Regions from separate parts of the Homo sapiens genome. Here region 2 is linked to region 1. The links are contacts of gene promoters, found by promoter capture Hi-C in blood cells and fetal thymus (Javierre and others, 2016). All regions are on one chromosome and are shown on one strand. Each heading gives the region's core, a stretch centred on a gene start or on the middle of the fragment in contact. The rest is flanking DNA. Distances are from core to core; before and after follow the strand shown. Region 1 holds the start of CHST8 (carbohydrate sulfotransferase 8). Region 2 has its middle 89 kb from the start of LSM14A.

What was found. The method cuts DNA at HindIII sites, captures the fragments that hold promoters and counts their contacts. A CHiCAGO score of 5 or more calls a contact.
Region 2: a contact is called between a fragment that was not itself captured here and the fragment with the promoter of CHST8 in region 1, in 1 of 17 cell types (M2 macrophages). The highest score is 5.0, in M2 macrophages.

The regions. Positions count from the first base shown.
Region 1 is chr19:33,620,654-33,623,788 of GRCh38, forward strand. CHST8 (carbohydrate sulfotransferase 8) reads left to right here and starts at 1,300. Exons shown (of 5, transcript NM_001127895.2): 1 at 1,300-1,643. RefSeq lists an enhancer at 261-1,005. The HindIII fragment of the contact is 23,667 bases long and covers 1-3,135 here.
Region 2 is chr19:34,082,280-34,085,464 of GRCh38, forward strand. No RefSeq gene overlaps it. Among named protein-coding and RNA genes, the nearest start is that of LSM14A, 89 kb to the right of the region's middle. The HindIII fragment of the contact is 1,189 bases long and covers 770-1,958 here.

The DNA.
Region 1 (3,135 bases), core at 50-2,549:
TGTTGCTGCAAGAATTAAAGGAAGACCATGATCTCTTTGTCATGCTTCTATTTATCTTCTTATCTGTCCTGGTCTATTTTTGGATGCTCTGAGCTTACCTGGGGCATTAAGGAGGCCTCATGGCCCTGGGGCTGAGGGGCTCCCTGGCCGTCCCCAGGAGTGGCTCTGCTCTCCGCCTGGTGTCCCCCACTCTGGTCAGTCAAGACCCATGGGCCCAGCTCACTCCCCAATTCCATCACTCACTCTAGGTCAGCTGGTAGGAGTCAGGCCAACCAGCCAGCAGGTACCATTAGAGAGGAGAGAGTAAGGGTCTTTCACTTTATTAAAGGCTTCTCTGCTGTTGTTTGAAAATACTGAGTGTCCCTTCAAGACTAACAGGTGACTGTGTGCACAGTTTCCTCCAGCTCCTGTGAGAAAGCAGTTGCCCCCCTTCCCAAGGCCTGCTTGTCCCCTGCAGGCTGGGGCTGCCTCTTCTTAGGAAGAACAAGGACCCGAATCCAGGGCCCCGTGTTCCTGTCCCTACTCTGTCCCGGTGCTGTGTGGCCGTGGGCCGGTTCCACCCTCCACGCTGTTTTCCCGAGTGTGTATGAAGAGGGTCGGTTGGCCCCGCTCTCAGGCTGGTGACCCGACACAAACTTCCAGGATGAAGTCCTGAAGGGAGCACCTGTTCGCAGGGCACTTTCAGCAGAATCTAGAGCCCCAGGGATTTGAGGATGGATGCGGACACCCGGGCCTGAGGCAGCTCGCGGCCTTGACCGAATTCCACGCGAGCTGAAGCCCAGGGATATCCCAGAATCTTCCTCAGGATCAATCTTCCGCCTTTCACCGGCCCTGCGCCCCCGCAGCATCGGGTCCTGGGCGCGCGCCCCTGCCCCGCTGTGGTCAAGGCCCGCCCCGGTGACGCCTGGTCCTTTTCCCGGGTTGGCGCCGCGTGCGACCCACCGAGGCAGTGGCAGCACTGGCCGCGGTCTGGAGCCTAGCGTCAGGCCGGAGTCCGGCTCTCCTGAACCGGGAGACCGGCGCAGCCCCAGCCACGACCGCTCCCACCCCCGCGGCCGCCGGACCGCGCCCAGCAGCGACTCTTTCTGAGAGCGCTGCCAGAGGGGCCGCGGGAGCCGCAGAGCGCGCGTGGGCGCGGCGCCCGCGAGCCCCCGGGAGGGCCGAGTGCATCGCTGGAGCGATCCCCGCCCGGCCCGGCCACCGCCGTAGCCGCCACCACGGCGGGGCGGGGCACGGGCCGGGGGCGGGGCGCCGGGCGGGCGCGGCGCTATTTCCAGCCTCGCCGGAGGCTTCGCTCTCACTTCGCTGGGAGCCTTCCCGGCGCGCAAGCCGGATCCGGCAGTGCTGCGGGGAGGAGAGAGGACGAGGCGGCGGCGGCAGCAGGAGGTGGGGGACCGATCGCGCCGGGGGCCGAAGAGGAACGCCGCCCCGCGCCCTCTCGCTCCCCGCACGCTCCGGCTGCCGGCCCCACGCTGCTCGCCCACAGATCGCACTGGGTTCCGCTTGGAGCGGGCGGAGGCACCGGGCCCGAGCTGGGTCGGAGGTCCTCTCCGCCGCCTGCGCGCCCCAAGCAGAGGATCCGCCGCGGAGAACCGCTCCCGGACTGGAGGCGCCCGCGGCCTCGGGTGCGTCCGCTGCGCCAGGTAAGTGGCTGCGCCCCTGCCCCACCCCTGTTCCCGCCCTGCGCAGGCTCCTGGCCTGCAGAGACGCCAGGAAGGGGTCCCGAGCGGGCCCCGGACTGCACCGCTCGCCATCCCCGCCACCGCACGCGAATGGGAGTCCGAAGCTGCGGGCGGAGGTGGGCGCGCGGGGCTCGGGTCTGGTTGCACTTTGGGGACCGGCCCCGGTAGCGGGAACTTTAATTAGACTTTCTCTCCTTGGATCTCACTCGCTGCCGCGCTTCTGGGAACTGCCGTCCCTCGGGCCCTCTTGGTCCCTGCGGACTCCCGCTCCGCCTCCTGGCCCTCGGTGCTGCCCGCGGGGAGGCGGCGTCGGGCGCTGAGCAGCGAGCGCCGAGGGCCAGGCAGGAGCGCTCGGGGCGCTGGGGCTTCCTGGCGCGCTCGGAGCCGGGGCTCCGGACGGGTTGCGGCGGGCAGAGACTATGGGGGAAGTTTAAGTGGCCTTGGCTTCCTACCCAGCGGCTCCGTCGCGCGCGTCCCCGACCCGCAACTCTCCAGGGCACCGGCCTGTGAGTGCTGGAGGCGAGTGTGCGTGCGTCAGCGATGGTGTGAAGGTGTGTGCGTGCGTGTGTCGGGAGTGCGGGAGTCGGAGCCTGGGGCGGCTCCAGGGGGCGGGGAAATGATCCGTTTGGCCGCGGGACCGAGCCGAGCTCTGACGGCGGCTGCAACTCCGGCTACCGACTCTGCAGACCCGCTCTGGCCTCGCTGGAGGCCAGCCGGGCCAGGAGGGCGATCACGGGTTTTGGCAGTGCCCGATGCTGGGGCTTGGGTCTGATGTGACCCCGATTCCTTCTCCAGTGCGGGACTCCCGCCGCCCTAACTTTCGCGTACATCTTGTCTCCAGGCCCGCGACCCCGACCCGGAGTTGAAGCGGCTGCGGCGCCCTCGGCTGTGGGCGCTGCTGCCCGGCTGTCTGTTTTAACCCAGAAGTAGGCGCCGATCCTGGGGCTCTCTGTCCTGCAGTCGTCTCCGGCGTCCCAGAGGACTCTGCGTCCCTGGGCCACTCCCGCTGGCTCAGGAGCCGTGATCAGCTCCGTTAAGGGGAACGCGCGTCCCGGCCCCTCTCCATCTGCTTGGCGCGATCTGGCGCAGCAGCAGAGCACGTGGGAGAGGCGTTGGGTGCAGGGAGGTAGTAGCTGCTTTGGAGTGGATGGTGGAGAGGGGCGGGGGACAGAGGGGTAAGAGGCAGATCAACCCCCTTTTATTTCCCACCGCCGCCCAAGGCCCCCAGGAGCTACAATACCAAGCCCACTTTCCTGGGTAACCTTTCTCTTCTGAGTTCACCTTGACCCTTGCCTACCTGTGGGGAAGTCTTTCCCTAAGTCCTGCCCTAGGACAGGGCACCCGTGGAGCAGGTGTGGCAGAGCCCTTAACATTTTCCAGCTGTCATGACCTTTCCTGCCCACCCTGTGCCCTGTCCCAAAGGCAAGGCAGACAGGCCACAGGAAGGACACTC
Region 2 (3,185 bases), core at 114-2,613, 460 kb after region 1:
ATATATGTTTCTTCACTAAAGAATAAAGAGCCGGTTAAGAGAATTCATTTCTTTGGCCCTAAAAGCAGGCACAATGATAACTTAAACTGTTAAGAGAAATAAATCCACAGCCCTAAGCCTTGCTGTTCCTATTATAAGAGCTAAAAACCTAAGCTGTCGCCCTCAGTACCTGCCAAAGCTTCCAACTGGGCCCTGATTTGTGAAGAGCAAAGGCCTTACAGGCGTCTTGTGTGGAAGTCACCAGGTCTTCCCTACCAGCGGGGAGAAATATCTAAGCCAGCCATCCATGGCTGGGTGTTTAAATGATAAAGAAAAAAAAAAAAGAAGAACATTTTGAAAAAATCAAGTGACCAAAACTTGAGAGAATATTATGAGAATATCAAACACAATGGAGCTATTTTAAAAGAAAGCAGAAATCTGGAATAATGAAATCGGCAAGAAGAAAACACTAAGAGCAAAAATACATTTATACATAAGACAACTATTTTTCAAAATTCTTGCTCGGCTTTGGATGTTCTGTTTGCCTCCCAGCTACAAACACATTCTTCACACACGCTGGGAATGCTGCTGAAAACTAGTCAGCATTCAGAGGCTTAATCCACAGTCCCGGCGCTGTGCCTGTGGGCTTCATCGTCAGACAGCCATTTGTCCTCAGGAGAGGTTAGGGGTTGAAATGCAAATATGCAAACAACTGAGTTCTTGCCCTAAAATAGCTGAGAAAAGCATGATCCCTTATGCTATCTTTTAAAAATGGAAAAAGAAGAAAAAAAGCTTACAATCTTAAGGATTTGTTTAAATACCTTAGTATGTTGCAATTTTGAAGGAGAAAATGATGGAAAGGAAGAAACACACTTGTCCTGGGTAAAATCTATAATCTGGAGAAAAGGTTGACATACGTGTGACACTTGATTTACCAGACCCACTAAAGATTTATTGATTTATCAATCACTGCCTCAGGCACTTGATTTCCCCCAAGGGAGAATTAACAATTCCCGCCAACTGATGGATTCTATTGTGAACTAAAATGAATGCAAGAATCTATCCTCTCCCTGTGCACAACCTCCAATTACCAAACAAACAAAAAAAAAGTGTATCTCTCTGTTTGGGGAATCCTTAAAATCCTTAAAATTAAAAATTATTTAACAAAAGAAATACTGTATTAAGTAATTGTCACTGGGCCGGGCGCAGTGGCTCACGCCTGTAATCCCAGCACTTGGGGAGGCTGAGGCGATGGATCACCTGAGGTCAAGAGTTCGAGACCAGTCAGGCCAGCCAGGCAAAACCATGTCTCTACTAAAAATACAATAATTAGCTGGGCATGGTGGCGGGTGCCTATAATCCCAGCTACTCAGGTGGCTAAGGCAGGAGAACCACTTAAACCCAGGAGGCAGAGGTTGCAGTGAGCTGAAGTTGTGCCACTGCACTCCAGTCTGGGCAACAAAGCGAGACTCCATCTCAAGAAAAAAAAATCACCCTTGATGCCAATAGACATTTTTAAAGGATGACTTTAACAAGCTCTAAAGGAGATACGGGCATCACAGAAATGTGATTTCATAACGTGGATAGGAACATGATCTTTTATGTTAAATTACCAGGATTGACTGTAGCCTCCACCACTTACGAGATGTGTTATCTTGGGCTTCTTTAAGCCTCAGTTTCACCATCTATAAAATGAGGAGATACACTTGTCCTTAGGAAAATGAGTAGTGAGGATGAATAGAATGCATCTGGCCTAGCCTCTGACATGCAGTCAGCCTTCCATCTGGCAGTTCCATTCCCATTACTGTCACTCTAAAATCATATGAAGTATAACACTATGGAAGGCCACACAGACAGGCTCCAGGGCTGAAACAGTTCACAGAGTATGACAAAGCGCCCTTAACGCTTTTGCAAGGCTCCTTCAGTGTCAACTAAGTGACAGCTTGAAAAGATGTACTTATTAACTAATATATGGATTAAGCTTTCTTTAATATTACCCACTAATCAGAAAATCTAAATCTATCAGAAGATTCTAAAGCAAATATGAGTAAACTATAGCCTGGGTGTCAAATCTGTTCTACCACCTATTTTTGTAAATAAAATATTATTGAAAGTGTAGGGGCAGAAAGGGGGTAATCCCCTGTAACAAAAGGCAGGTTAACAATAGAAAAGTATAACAAATTTTTTACATGCACACTTATGCAGGGATGTCACAGAAAATATGAAAACTCAAAGAGCCCAGTGAGTGATTATTATTATTATTATTTTTATTTTTAGACAGGATCTCACTCTATTGCCCAGGCTGGAGTGTAGTGGTGCCATCTAGGCTCACTGCAGCCTCGCTCTCCTGGACTCCAGCAATCCTCCTCCCACCTCAGCCTCCAGAGTAGCTGGGACTACAGGCATGTGCCACCACGCCTGGATAATTTTTGTTGTTGTTGCAGAGATGGAGTTTTGCCATGTTGCCAAGGCTGGTCTTGAACTCCTGAGCTCAAGTGATCCACCTGCCTTGACCTCCCAAAGTGCTGGGATTACAGGAGTGAGCCACAGTTGAGTGGAATTTTTATGCTATCCTGAGGCTACAGAAAGAATAAGGGGCTTGGGGCTTCCAGAAGAGGTAGCACACAGGTTATGGGAAAAGGAAAGAAGGAAAATTTGTCAAAGTGGTCTTGTCATGCAAATGAAGCATCACAGGTAGCAGCTCTCAGAAAGAATAGAAGTGGACTGTGGCAAAGTTTCTCTGACAAACCTTTAAACGTGTTAGGCTCTTAGTCTCTTTTTCCTGTGAGCTCATCTTTCCTAGATCTGGAGAAGAGGGTGCTCAGAGAAAGCCTGGCTGCTTATTTCACTAATGTAGATTTTCTCTACAGATGCAAATCTCCTCCACCAAAGACAGCTTTTCAGGGCTATTCTTGTCTGCAGTTTCTCTGAATAATTATCTCAAAATATGCCAAAGAAGTCTATTTTTGGGGTGAAATATTCTGGTTTCCTTCAGAACACATTCCTATATTGTTTATGGCTGTTTGGGTCCTACAATGACAGAGTTGAGTAGCTGTGACCGAAGCCATATGGCCCACTGTTCTCCCCACAGTGAGTGGTGAGGGATGGTGAGGGACAGGAGGCTTTATGCAGACCTCAGGAGAAACTTTTGAAAGGATTGACTCTTACCATTTTGTTGCTGACAGTTCCCTGGGGTGAGAACACAG